2 separate regions of the Homo sapiens genome follow, and region 2 is linked to region 1. The links are contacts of gene promoters, found by promoter capture Hi-C in blood cells and fetal thymus (Javierre and others, 2016). All regions are on one chromosome and are shown on one strand. Each heading gives the region's core, a stretch centred on a gene start or on the middle of the fragment in contact. The rest is flanking DNA. Distances are from core to core; before and after follow the strand shown. Region 1 holds the start of KRT6B (keratin 6B). Region 2 holds the start of KRT71 (keratin 71).

The links. Contacts are between HindIII fragments. The CHiCAGO score rates a contact against its expected background, and 5 or more counts as called.
Region 2: the fragment with the promoter of KRT71 here is called in contact with the fragment with the promoter of KRT6B in region 1 in 4 of 17 cell types (neutrophils, M1 macrophages, erythroblasts and 1 more); the score reaches 5.7 in neutrophils.

The regions. Positions count from the first base shown.
Region 1 is chr12:52,449,622-52,455,206 of GRCh38, reverse strand. It overlaps KRT6B (keratin 6B), which reads left to right and starts at 3,061. Exons shown (of 9, transcript NM_005555.4): 1 at 3,061-3,668; 2 at 4,587-4,801; 3 at 5,135-5,195; 4 at 5,354-5,449; 5 at 5,574-5,585. The coding sequence starts at 3,129. The HindIII fragment of the contact is 8,192 bases long and covers 2,078-5,585 here.
Region 2 is chr12:52,550,223-52,555,945 of GRCh38, reverse strand. It overlaps KRT71 (keratin 71), which reads left to right and starts at 2,801. Exons shown (of 9, transcript NM_033448.3): 1 at 2,801-3,309; 2 at 5,703-5,723. The coding sequence starts at 2,869. The HindIII fragment of the contact is 3,012 bases long and covers 2,616-5,627 here.

The DNA.
Region 1 (5,585 bases), core at 1,812-4,311:
TTTAAATATAAATGAGTGGCTTCTGAACTTAATCTAGTGGAAGAAAGGGAAGCCCTTTCCTCTTCTCAGAAATTGCCTAAAAACAACAAAGAGAACAAAAAACATAAAGGCAGACTCTACCCTCAAAAACCAGAAGTAAAAGATCTTAAAATCCCTAAACCAAATGATGATGATGATGATGATGATGATGATGATAATAATAATAATAATAGAATGTCCTCACATAAATAGAGAAATACAAACAAGGTTGTTAGGAAAACTCAGAGAGCAGATGCCACGGCTGCCAATCTCAGACAAAGCCAGTGGAGAACACTCACAAATAAACAGATCAAAATCAAACAACACAGTAACCACAAAGGAAAACCAAACACAGCCTAACAGTGAGGTTTTACTACATGCCAGGCACAGTTGACTCATTTTCCTCAACTAAATCAATGTAAAGGGCATGTCCTCCTGTGAAAATCCAAGAATCCCTTATTTGCAACTATCACAACTGGGTGTGTGAGCACGAGCCAGGACCCTGCTTGTCATGAAGTTTCAAGAAACTATGAAGGCAAATTTGAATAAGAAGAGAGACAAGGTCAACTAGTAGCATTTTATTGTGAGGCAAAGAAAACAAAGAGGCTGTAAATTGTGAGCCACTCTGCAGTGATCTTTATTGGTTTGGCTGAATGAAAGAATAAAAGAACTATTCACACAGCCCTGTGTCACAATCAGAACTCCTGTTAGCCTGGATATGGCCCTGGCTCATCCACCCATAATACTTTCTACAAACCGCAGGTCCAGAGGGGGCTCATCTCATTAAAAATAAGCACTAGTCAGAAAGGAACCATGCCAGGACTCAGAAAAGGTCTGTGCATTCAAAATTGAAAAAAATAGGCAAAAAAAAAAAAAAGACTCATAAAAACTCTCAACAGAAAAAGGCACAATAAAATACTAAAAAATAAACACTATAAAGTGGGAAAAAGAAGACAAAATATAGTGAGACAGGTAAAAGATAAAATATTCATTTGTGGAGCACAGAAAAGGGGTAGAGATAACAACAAAGTCCTGCTTAGAAATGAAGGTCAAATTGGCCAGGTGCGGTGGCTCACGCCTGTAATCCCAGCACTTTGGGAGGCCAACGCGGGTGGATCACGAGGTCAGGAGTTCAAGATCAGCCCGGCCAACATGCTAAAACCCCATCTCTCCTAAAAATACAAAAATTAGCCGGGCATGGTGGCAGGTACCTGTAGTCCCAGCTACTTGGGAGGCTGAGGCATGAGAATCACTTGAACCTGGGAGGCGGAGGTTGCAGTGAGCCGAGATCATGCCATTGCACTCCAGCCTGGGTGACAGAGCAAGACTCTGTGTAAAAAAAAAAAAGAAAAGAAAAAAGAAATGAAGCCCAAATTGAAAGCGGCATAAGGAGGAAAGACATTGGTAAACAGACAGTAATGGACATTTGGGAGAAATGTCCTCGAATAACTGGGAAAAGCAAACAGCTATGAAAAAGAGACTAGAGACTGTTAAAAAGAGAATCAGAAAACATAGATGTGGGAGACAAAGCAGACACAACACAATCACAATTGAAAAAGACAATATTTTTATGTTTTGTACATATGAATACATGAAATATTTTATATACATAAAACACACTCAAACACATACACACAAAACATTCATGTATTTATTTATATACCTTTCTACAATGCAGGCTCCCTCTCTATATATGCCAACTCCCTCCACCTCTTCCTCACCCATACAAACACACGTTGACACAAACACATATGCACAGACATGTCACCCATGGCCCAGGAAAAGCACAGGAAAATATCCAAGTAAAGATACAAGGATACACAAGGAACTGCTAACATTACTTCCTCCATAGATAGGAATTGGGTAACTGGGGAATGGCCTTGAGCTATATTATTTTGTTGTTTAGCATGTTTTACAAAAAATTTTTTAAAACATGTATCATGTATTCAATTTGTAAACATGTAAATAATTGTGCAAATAGTACTATTCAAAATTTAAATGGGCAATCTACTACATTTACTTCTAGAATGTTTAAATATAGACAGAATCTTAATAAGCTTCTAATTTTAATATGAAATATGAAGGTTAGAGTCTCATATTAAAGGAAACAATAGGGGTATGCAATTAGAAAAATCCCAAGAATGAAAAAGTACAATGAACAGTTAACCTGTTTTATTTAACAAATAAAAGTAAGAAATGAAGGGAGATTTTTAAATTTCAATGATTTAAAGGATATATCACTCAAATACAACGTTTATAGAGCTTATTTTGACTCTGATTGGGACACCAAAATATAAGAAATATATATCAAAAATAGGACTGCTTGAAGACTAAATAGACACTTGTTCATTTTAATTAGTATGTAAATTTTTAAGATATAAAAATAGTGTTTTGATTTTTTAAAGGACCTATTATTTAGATATTAATATTGAATTATTGATTGAAGACATAATATGACTTCTGGAATTTCCTTTCAAACAATCTAGAATGGAAGAGGAAATAGGGTTGAAGTATGAAAGAAATCAGGCTGGCCATGAGATGATCATCATGGAAGCAGGTGACAGGTATATACAGGCCCATTGCAGTGTTCTGCTTCTCTACCTGTTTAAAATTGCACCTAAAAGGTGAAACAATTATGGGGAAATTGTAATATTTCTGTTAAGGAATTCACAATACAGTGCCTGTGATCTCCAACAGCAAGGCTGGAAGAAAGTCAGACTGGGAAGAGGAGGGCACTCAGGGCATGTCGATAAACAGCCTAGCATGCAGAACCTTTGCTGAAGACAGTGACTAATTCCAACTTCATGAATTGAGAATACTCTTATTGTGCTGAGATCTCAAGTCAAAGCTGGAGGCAGGAACATTTTGCCTGACTAAAGGAAGCGAAAAATGCAATCTCGGTATTTCATAACTTTTGTAATAATGCAGGTGTGATCTCACTATTTGTAAAGCCCAGCCCTTCCCAACCTGCAAGCTCACCTTCCAGGACTGGGCCCAGCCCATGCTCTCCATATATAAGCTGCTACTGGAGTCCGATTCCTCGTCCTGCTTCTCCTCCCTCTCGCCTCCAGCCTCTCACACTCTCCTAAGCCCTCTCATCTCCTGGAACCATGGCCAGCACATCCACCACCATCAGGAGCCACAGCAGCAGCCGCCGGGGTTTCAGTGCCAACTCAGCCAGGCTCCCTGGGGTCAGCCGCTCTGGCTTCAGCAGCATCTCCGTGTCCCGCTCCAGGGGCAGTGGTGGCCTGGGTGGCGCATGTGGAGGAGCTGGCTTTGGCAGCCGCAGTCTGTATGGCCTGGGGGGCTCCAAGAGGATCTCCATTGGAGGGGGCAGCTGTGCCATCAGTGGCGGCTATGGCAGCAGAGCCGGAGGCAGCTATGGCTTTGGTGGCGCCGGGAGTGGATTTGGTTTCGGTGGTGGAGCCGGCATTGGCTTTGGTCTGGGTGGTGGAGCCGGCCTTGCTGGTGGCTTTGGGGGCCCTGGCTTCCCTGTGTGCCCCCCTGGAGGCATCCAAGAGGTCACTGTCAACCAGAGTCTCCTGACTCCCCTCAACCTGCAAATTGACCCCGCCATCCAGCGGGTGCGGGCCGAGGAGCGTGAGCAGATCAAGACCCTCAACAACAAGTTTGCCTCCTTCATCGACAAGGTGAGCCAGTGCCATGCCCTCCATCGGGCACTTCAGGGTCCCCAGACCAGAAGAGCAACACCTTCCTGCCGGAGAGACCCTAGGAGGGAGGGAGAAGGGGACTCAGCCCAGCTCTGCAGAGAGTGCAGGTGGCTCTCGGTGCACAGGAGGCAGCACAGATGGGCATCACTCCCCCATGGGATATCTGGAGTGGCCCTCACTCCTGCCTAGGGAGAGCCATAACTTTTCATAACCCTGAAGCACAGATGAGGCCATCAGAGAGTGGAGTAGGTTAATTCTCCCCTCTGAAGTGTTTAAGAGATTACAAAGCAAATGCCAGGAGTATATGGGCTGGTAAATTACACTCTGGGGTCTGGGTAAGAGGAAAAAGATTTAGAAAGAAAAGGAAAAGATAATCTGGCTGGATTAAGAAAAAAAGGGACATAGAAACAACTGTAAAACATGGATAAATGCTAATTAATTTTAAAAACAGAGAATGACCATAACATCAGAATATTTGAGAGGAGACACTAAATGGGAAAGTAGACTGAAATGTAATCATGAGTCAACATCTAATATCCCTCCTAACTAAGATCCTCTCGGTAAAAAAAACTGTGTACAATATATCAGGTAATTAGTATTTTTAAACTAGATTTGTGATTGTGCTTGGAAAAAGAAAAGAAGAAATGTTGAAACTCACTGATGATCAATAGCTTACAGTGCGAGAACACCTCAGTGGTCCGTGGGACAATTTCTCTAGTGAGACTGGTGGGGTGCAAAGGAGAAGGAGTTGGGGGAGCAGAGCTCAGCCTGAGCCTCTCTACATGCACTGTAGTAGCCCAGCACCATGGGGACCTCCCAGACCTCCAGGAAACTGGATACCAGACACTTTCTCTGCCTTCCTTTTCCTGGAAAATGACCATTTTGCTTCCCCTCCAGGTGCGGTTCCTAGAGCAGCAGAACAAGGTTCTGGACACCAAGTGGACCCTGCTGCAGGAGCAGGGCACCAAGACTGTGAGGCAGAACCTGGAGCCGTTGTTCGAGCAGTACATCAACAACCTCAGGAGGCAGCTGGACAACATCGTGGGGGAACGGGGTCGTCTGGACTCGGAGCTGAGAAACATGCAGGACCTGGTGGAGGACCTCAAGAACAAGTGAGGACTCCATTTCCTGCAGCACACACTTCAAGACTATTGGGTGACCAGGGCCAGATGTGTGTAGGATTCCTAACAACCCATGTCCATGGAAATGAAAAGCACAAATTAGTCCCTAGGAGCAAACCTGCAAGAACCACAGATGGTTATGGGAGGATGGGGAGATTAAAGAAATGGCAAATTTAGTAGTAGCAAAATTCATCTCTTTGGCTCTCTGTGGCAGGAAAGCTCAATTAGAATATATTCCATTCAGGAAAATGTTGAATCCCAAGCTGCTTTTCTGTTTCATCCTACCCACTGGCTCAAATGTGTCCCATGCCTTTCTTCCTGTAGATATGAGGATGAAATCAACAAGCGCACAGCAGCAGAGAATGAATTTGTGACTCTGAAGAAGGTGAGCAGATGAAGCCAGGGGTTCAAATTCATTTAGAAGGAGAGAAGTGGCTCTGTGTCCTCGCTCCCCTGGGAGAGGAGAATTGGCAGGAGGACTAGAAGATGGGTAGATTGGAAAGGTGAGCTCAGGCAACTCCAGGTTGTTGGCTCTTTCCCCAGGATGTGGATGCTGCCTACATGAACAAGGTTGAACTGCAAGCCAAGGCAGACACTCTTACAGATGAGATCAACTTCCTGAGAGCCTTGTATGATGCAGTAAGCAACTCCACCATCCTTCTGTTTACTCTGATGGGGTCTGCAAAGGGGAGAAGATGTACAGGGCTGGGCATCTCTGTAAATGTCAGAAGTGAAGTTGATCTTATGACCTTCTGTTCTGCAGGAGCTGTCCCAG
Region 2 (5,723 bases), core at 1,552-4,051, 100 kb before region 1:
GTGGGAGGGAGGCAAGGGTTCTAGAACCAAACTGGAGTCCACTTGCCCGGCCCAGGAAGACCAGATATCTACACCGAGGTTTGCAGCAGTGGAAAGGAAGGCGTTTATTTGCAGGGCACCAAGCAAGAGGGACCAGGCAGCTAATGCTGAAGTCCCAACCTCCCTGATGGTGTGAAGATTAGAGGCTTTAAAGGCGGGGTAAATTTCAGCAGAGCAGAAGTTACAGGCGAAATTCAATACATGAAGGCTACACATTGGCTTTGGCCTAAAAGGGCAGGATGTCTTTCTTTTTTTTCTTTATTTCTTCTTAAAAAAAGTAGGATACCTGTACAGAACGTGCAGGTTTGTTTCATAGGTACACATGTGCCATGGTGGTTTGCTGCACCTATTGACCCATCCTCTAAGTTCCCTCCCCTCACCCCTCACCCCCCAACAGGCCCTGGTGTGTGTTGTTTCCCTCTCTGTGTCCATGTGTTCTCAATGTTCAACTCCCACTTATGAGTGAGAACATGCGGTGTTTGGTCAGGATGTTTTTAAGTGGGAGCTCACAGGTCATAAACAGATTCAAAGATTTTATGATTTGCAATTGGTTAAGGAAGAGAAACTTTGTTTAAAAATTTGGGGTCAGCAGAAAAGAGTGTTAGCTCTGGCTTGTAGGTGTGACATTCTTCAGGCCCCTCAGGAAGAAATTTAGAACAAAGAGTGGTGGTCAGAGCTCAGTGCCCAGTGTCCCTTCATCTGAGGTCTATGTGCCCAGGCATCCCTTTTGGTGGGGTTTGGGTTTCTGACAAACAACTCTGGGACATATGTTAAGGTGCTATCTTTAGTTTCTATGGCGGAACCAAACATCCCACGATTCCAGCTTTCGTGGCTGTTGTTTTGGGCTACTGTTATCTTCTTGCTTGTCAGGTTGCTTATTTATTTCTCCAGGCTAGCAAGGTGCCCAGAATTTCCCTTGAAGGAACTCAAGATTGTCCTTTATTTCCATGCTTGAGGGGACCTGAAGGCCCCTACGAGGGCGTCCCTGCTCCATCTCAGAGTGCACTAGGTGGTCTCTAATCTGGAGAAGACTCTGCTAGCCTTACAAAGAAAAACTAAGATGACATGTGACATGGCTTCAGAGGATCCCCATGGGAGCTGTCACAGAGTTGCAGCCCCACCAGCACATGCTAAGGATGTGTTCAGAGCGGAGGGAGGTAAGGAGAGCTCAGACCTGGCCTGTGTGGGTGCAGGAAGACCTCCTGGAGGAGAGCAGGATGGGGAAGTGACAGAACAAGAGATGGCGAAAGGCTGAGAGGGAAGGATGGAGGGAAGATGGATGGGAGGGATGAGGAGGGATGGAGAGAGAAGGTGAGAAAGAGAGAAGGCAGGGATAGGAAAATTCGGGTAGTTTCAGTAAGAGCAAAGAAGACAAAATGGCAGGGGCAAGAGTAGAGGAAGGAATGCAGAGGATTGGGAGGGACTGGAGTCCAGGCTCTTCCCCTAAACAATATGAGAGAGAGCCCCAAACCAGCCTGTCTCCAGATTTTCTTCCCTCCTGTGCCCCACCCAGCAAAGAGCTGCTGTTCACCCATGGGGCTCCAGCAGGGATCTCTGGGCAAGGGTGATCTTCAGGGACAGAGCTGCCTTGGGTTGAATAGGGCCACAGTGGCAATGGCGATCATGGGAGTAGCTGGGGCCCAACACAGGAGCCAGTGGCTAGGAAGCAGGGGCTGCAGCCAGAGTCTCTGGGGCTGGCATCAAAGGACTGTTTGGAGTAGAATGACATCGTGCTTACTGGGTCGCCCCCATTGGGTCTTTCTGGTCTGAGCCTGCCTGGAGGCTTGCACTCCTGGGGAGGGCTCAGCCAGCCTTGTTCTTGGCTCACTTGGGCCTGGACAGAGGCAATAGGAGTTAAGTTTCATGTTGATAACAGCTTCTTTATTTGAACTCTAAACAGATGATTACTGTCCTCAAGTTGTTCCTAGTCTTATTAGCAGATACACATTGGAGGAGAGACAGAAATGAGGAAGTGGACCACCCAGGAATCTCCATAACCCTCCAGGCCATGGGCCAGCCTCTGTCTTTGTCTTCTCTGTACCTCCTTCCAGTCAAGTCCCTGAATTTCTCAGCCACCTGCCCCAACTCCATCCTCCTTTTCTCGTCCTCATTTTCTCCAGTGTTTGAAGCCTCCAGCCTGCTTTATTATGGGTGTTTGAGGGGGGAGAAGTGAGGATAGTGCCCGTGGTTGGCTCTGGCCTGGGCTGCTTCTGTCCCATGCTAGCGAGAGGGTCACTCCACCTCCTAATACCCCATGAGTGAGAGCAGCTGCCCTCTATGGGTTATGTTTCCAGGAGGCCTGGGGAGAGGTAATGCCTGATCAGTCCCTTTCCAGGAAGGAGGAGAACAGAAGTTGGAGGCCCCAGTACTCTACCCAGTGTCCTGAACTATCCAGGAAAGTCCATCCTGTCTTCACCTGCTGCATCCCCAGGAGGAAGCCAACAACCCAGAGAAGATTAATCAGGATAGGGATGGTGCAGTGCCAGTGACATCCCCCTGGAGAGGCCAGGGCCTGGGGCAAATTACCCTATAACAGCAGGTTAATTAGATAAGACCCAAATTACATGAGCAAAGCTTGCAAGCCCAGCAATTTGAAGGTTTCATGTTGTTTCAGAGGTGGAGAGGGCTTGATCTCTAGCTCAGCATAGAGAAAATGACTTCTTGCTCCCAGGCAAGCCAAACCCACGAATTAAGCTCTTGACTGCCCATCCACAAGCCCCAGTGCCAAGCACATATAAAGGCACCTGCCAGTCCTCACTACAACCAGCAGAACCTTTTGGGATTTTGCCTTCCTCCCTCCTGCATCTGAGCTTTGTCTCCACCAGCAACATGAGCCGCCAATTCACCTGCAAGTCGGGAGCTGCCGCCAAGGGGGGCTTCAGTGGCTGCTCAGCTGTGCTCTCAGGGGGCAGCTCATCCTCCTTCCGGGCAGGGAGCAAAGGGCTCAGTGGGGGCTTTGGCAGCCGGAGCCTCTACAGCCTGGGGGGTGTCCGGAGCCTCAATGTGGCCAGTGGCAGCGGGAAGAGTGGAGGCTATGGATTTGGCCGGGGCCGGGCCAGTGGCTTTGCTGGAAGCATGTTTGGCAGTGTGGCCCTGGGGCCTGTGTGCCCAACTGTATGCCCACCTGGAGGCATCCACCAGGTTACCGTCAATGAGAGCCTCCTGGCCCCCCTCAACGTGGAGCTGGACCCCGAGATCCAGAAAGTGCGTGCCCAGGAGCGAGAGCAGATCAAGGCTCTGAACAACAAGTTCGCCTCCTTCATCGACAAGGTGGGTCTTCTAGGGCCTGGGGAACTTGTGAACAGCCCTCCTCTTCTCTTCTTGGAACATACGATTTTGTTACAGCAGGAGAGATTGAGGTTAGATGTGAGGAAGACTTTACTGTGGACAAGGTAGGTACATCCCATCAACAGGGTGACCTGTGTAAGGTTCTCTGTGTTGTCTTTCCAGAGAGAAAACAGAGGCAGGTCAATTTCTACTGGCAGAGGCTTCTCAGGGCTCCCAGCAAGAGATGTGGTCCTTCCTCTTGAGGGCTAGCTTGGTGCCATTGCTAGGCCTGCAGGCCGTGTGCAGAAAAGGCCTGTGAGAGCCAGTCTCGCCCAGAGTAAGCAGGGAAGCTGTCCTCCTCCCCTGGCATGCTGCCCTGCCCACTGGTCACTTGCCCAGCGGATCAGGAGCAGCAGGAAGGGGCCGCTTCAGGCCCTCTGATTGGGCATTTGCTCCAGTCAGTTGAAGACTTTCTTGAGAGGCAGAAGAGGGCACTGGGGAAGGGGACTCCACGGTGCTCTTGTGCTCACTGCTGGCCACAGCTGAGTGGCTCTGGGAAGGTGATCTGCCTGTCTGTGTTGCCATCTCCTCATCTCTAAAATGGAGATAATAACTTCTGTCTTGGGGTTGTTGTCAGGCTTATAAAAGAAAATGCAGGTGAAGATCTTGTCACAAGCCTGACGCACACTAAATACTCCAAAAATGATTGTGATTGTGACTCTCATTTCTTATCTCTGGAATGTGGGGGAGGGAAGCTCAGGGGAGGAATCAAAGGTGTCTAGAGACCTGAAGAGATGACACAGTCCAGATAGGCCCCTGACTTCTGGCAGAGAAGAAATGATTATCCCTATCGTATGAGTCACTGAAGGCATGGAGGTAAATGGCATTCCCAGGGTCATTTGGGGAAAGGGAAGGGTGAGGCTGGACCCTCAGCCTTTTGCCTCCAGACCCAGAGGAGGAGACTGGAGGGTTCTGTTGGCTCTGTGGCAGTCAGGCACCAAGGACGGGTCAACCCAGGACAAAGTCTATGGGTGAGACGGTCATGTGGCCATCAGAGCTTAGCCAGCTCCTGCAGCTCAGACTTCCTGCCTGGAGGAGTCCCTGCTGCCCTCGGCTCAGCCTCAGGGGCTAGGACTGGCTCTGCGGCTTCTTATTCTTCTAAGCCTTTTCATATCTGCAAGATCAAAGTGTTCTGAGATGGGGTCTGGGTGATGGGAGTGGACTGATTGATTCTTGGCTCGGCTGGTCAAAACCTACAGAAGGATAAAGTCTGGAGACATGGGAAGAAAGATGAACATGAGGAGGGTCACATCCTGTTTATAAAGATGGTCTGCCCAGAGGGAGGGGAAGGAGGCTGAAAGGCTTGGACAGTTCCCAAATAATTTCAGTCTCCAGAGATCAGTCCCTTAACCTCAGGCAGCCAGAGAAGACGGGTAAATCCTTTCGGCATCCAGATGTGTTCAGTAGTGCAGGTGTGTATTGTGGTGTCTCAGATGCAGGATTTACTCTGTGGTTAATGCTCAGCCTCGTAGATCACATGAAAAATTCAGGATTGGTTAAACCAGACCAAATGCTGGAAGACGGGCTAGAGACAAATTTTCGGGGAATAATTCTATCTTGACACTGAATCTTAGATAGTTTTCCCATGTCTTGTGTTTCTGATGTTGGGGAAGACAACCTTATTCAAGCAGTAGCTGTGCTCATGTAGATTAAGGGAAGTCACATTTTAAAAACTGTGCTCCCCATCCCCAAAAACCAAACAAGAGGTGTGTATGGACATCTCCTTCTGGCCAGTTTCCTGCCTCAGTGAGGGGCTACAATGGGATCAGGAGCTCCATCTGTCCATCATGTTCCATGTGCCATGCTTGTTGCAGAGAAGATGGTTCTGGGGAGCAGGACCAAGGAGGGAGAGGAGGGGCTATAAGCAAAGATGAAGCTGGTGCCTGCTCCAGGCATTTAAAATACCTAGAAGCCCTTGGCCCAAGCCTTACTGAGCTCTGACATGCCCTGAAATGAAGAGCAGACTTTTCTTCAGGATGGTCAACCTGTCCAAAATGGTGGACCCATCCTGGCTTCTCTGCTGGTATTTTCAATCACAGCCAAGCCCTGAGTTGGTGCAACCATGGAGGGTGCTGGGTGATTGCATGCACGGGTTACAGGGACATGTGTCTAGATTCAGTTCCGGGCTCCACCGCTTCTTAAACTGTTGGGCCTTGGAAACAGCCGAAGTTGCTCTGTGTCTCAGTTTTCTCTCCATAGCAGAGGGTAATGATTTGCCCACCTCTTTCAGCTCTATTGAGGAGAAAATGCAGATAGAAGCTTTACACAATGCCCTGTGAGAGACACGTGTGACTATTACTGCAAGGGTTCAGCAGTTTCTGGGATCTGGGTTCCAGGTGCGGTTCCTGGAGCAGCAG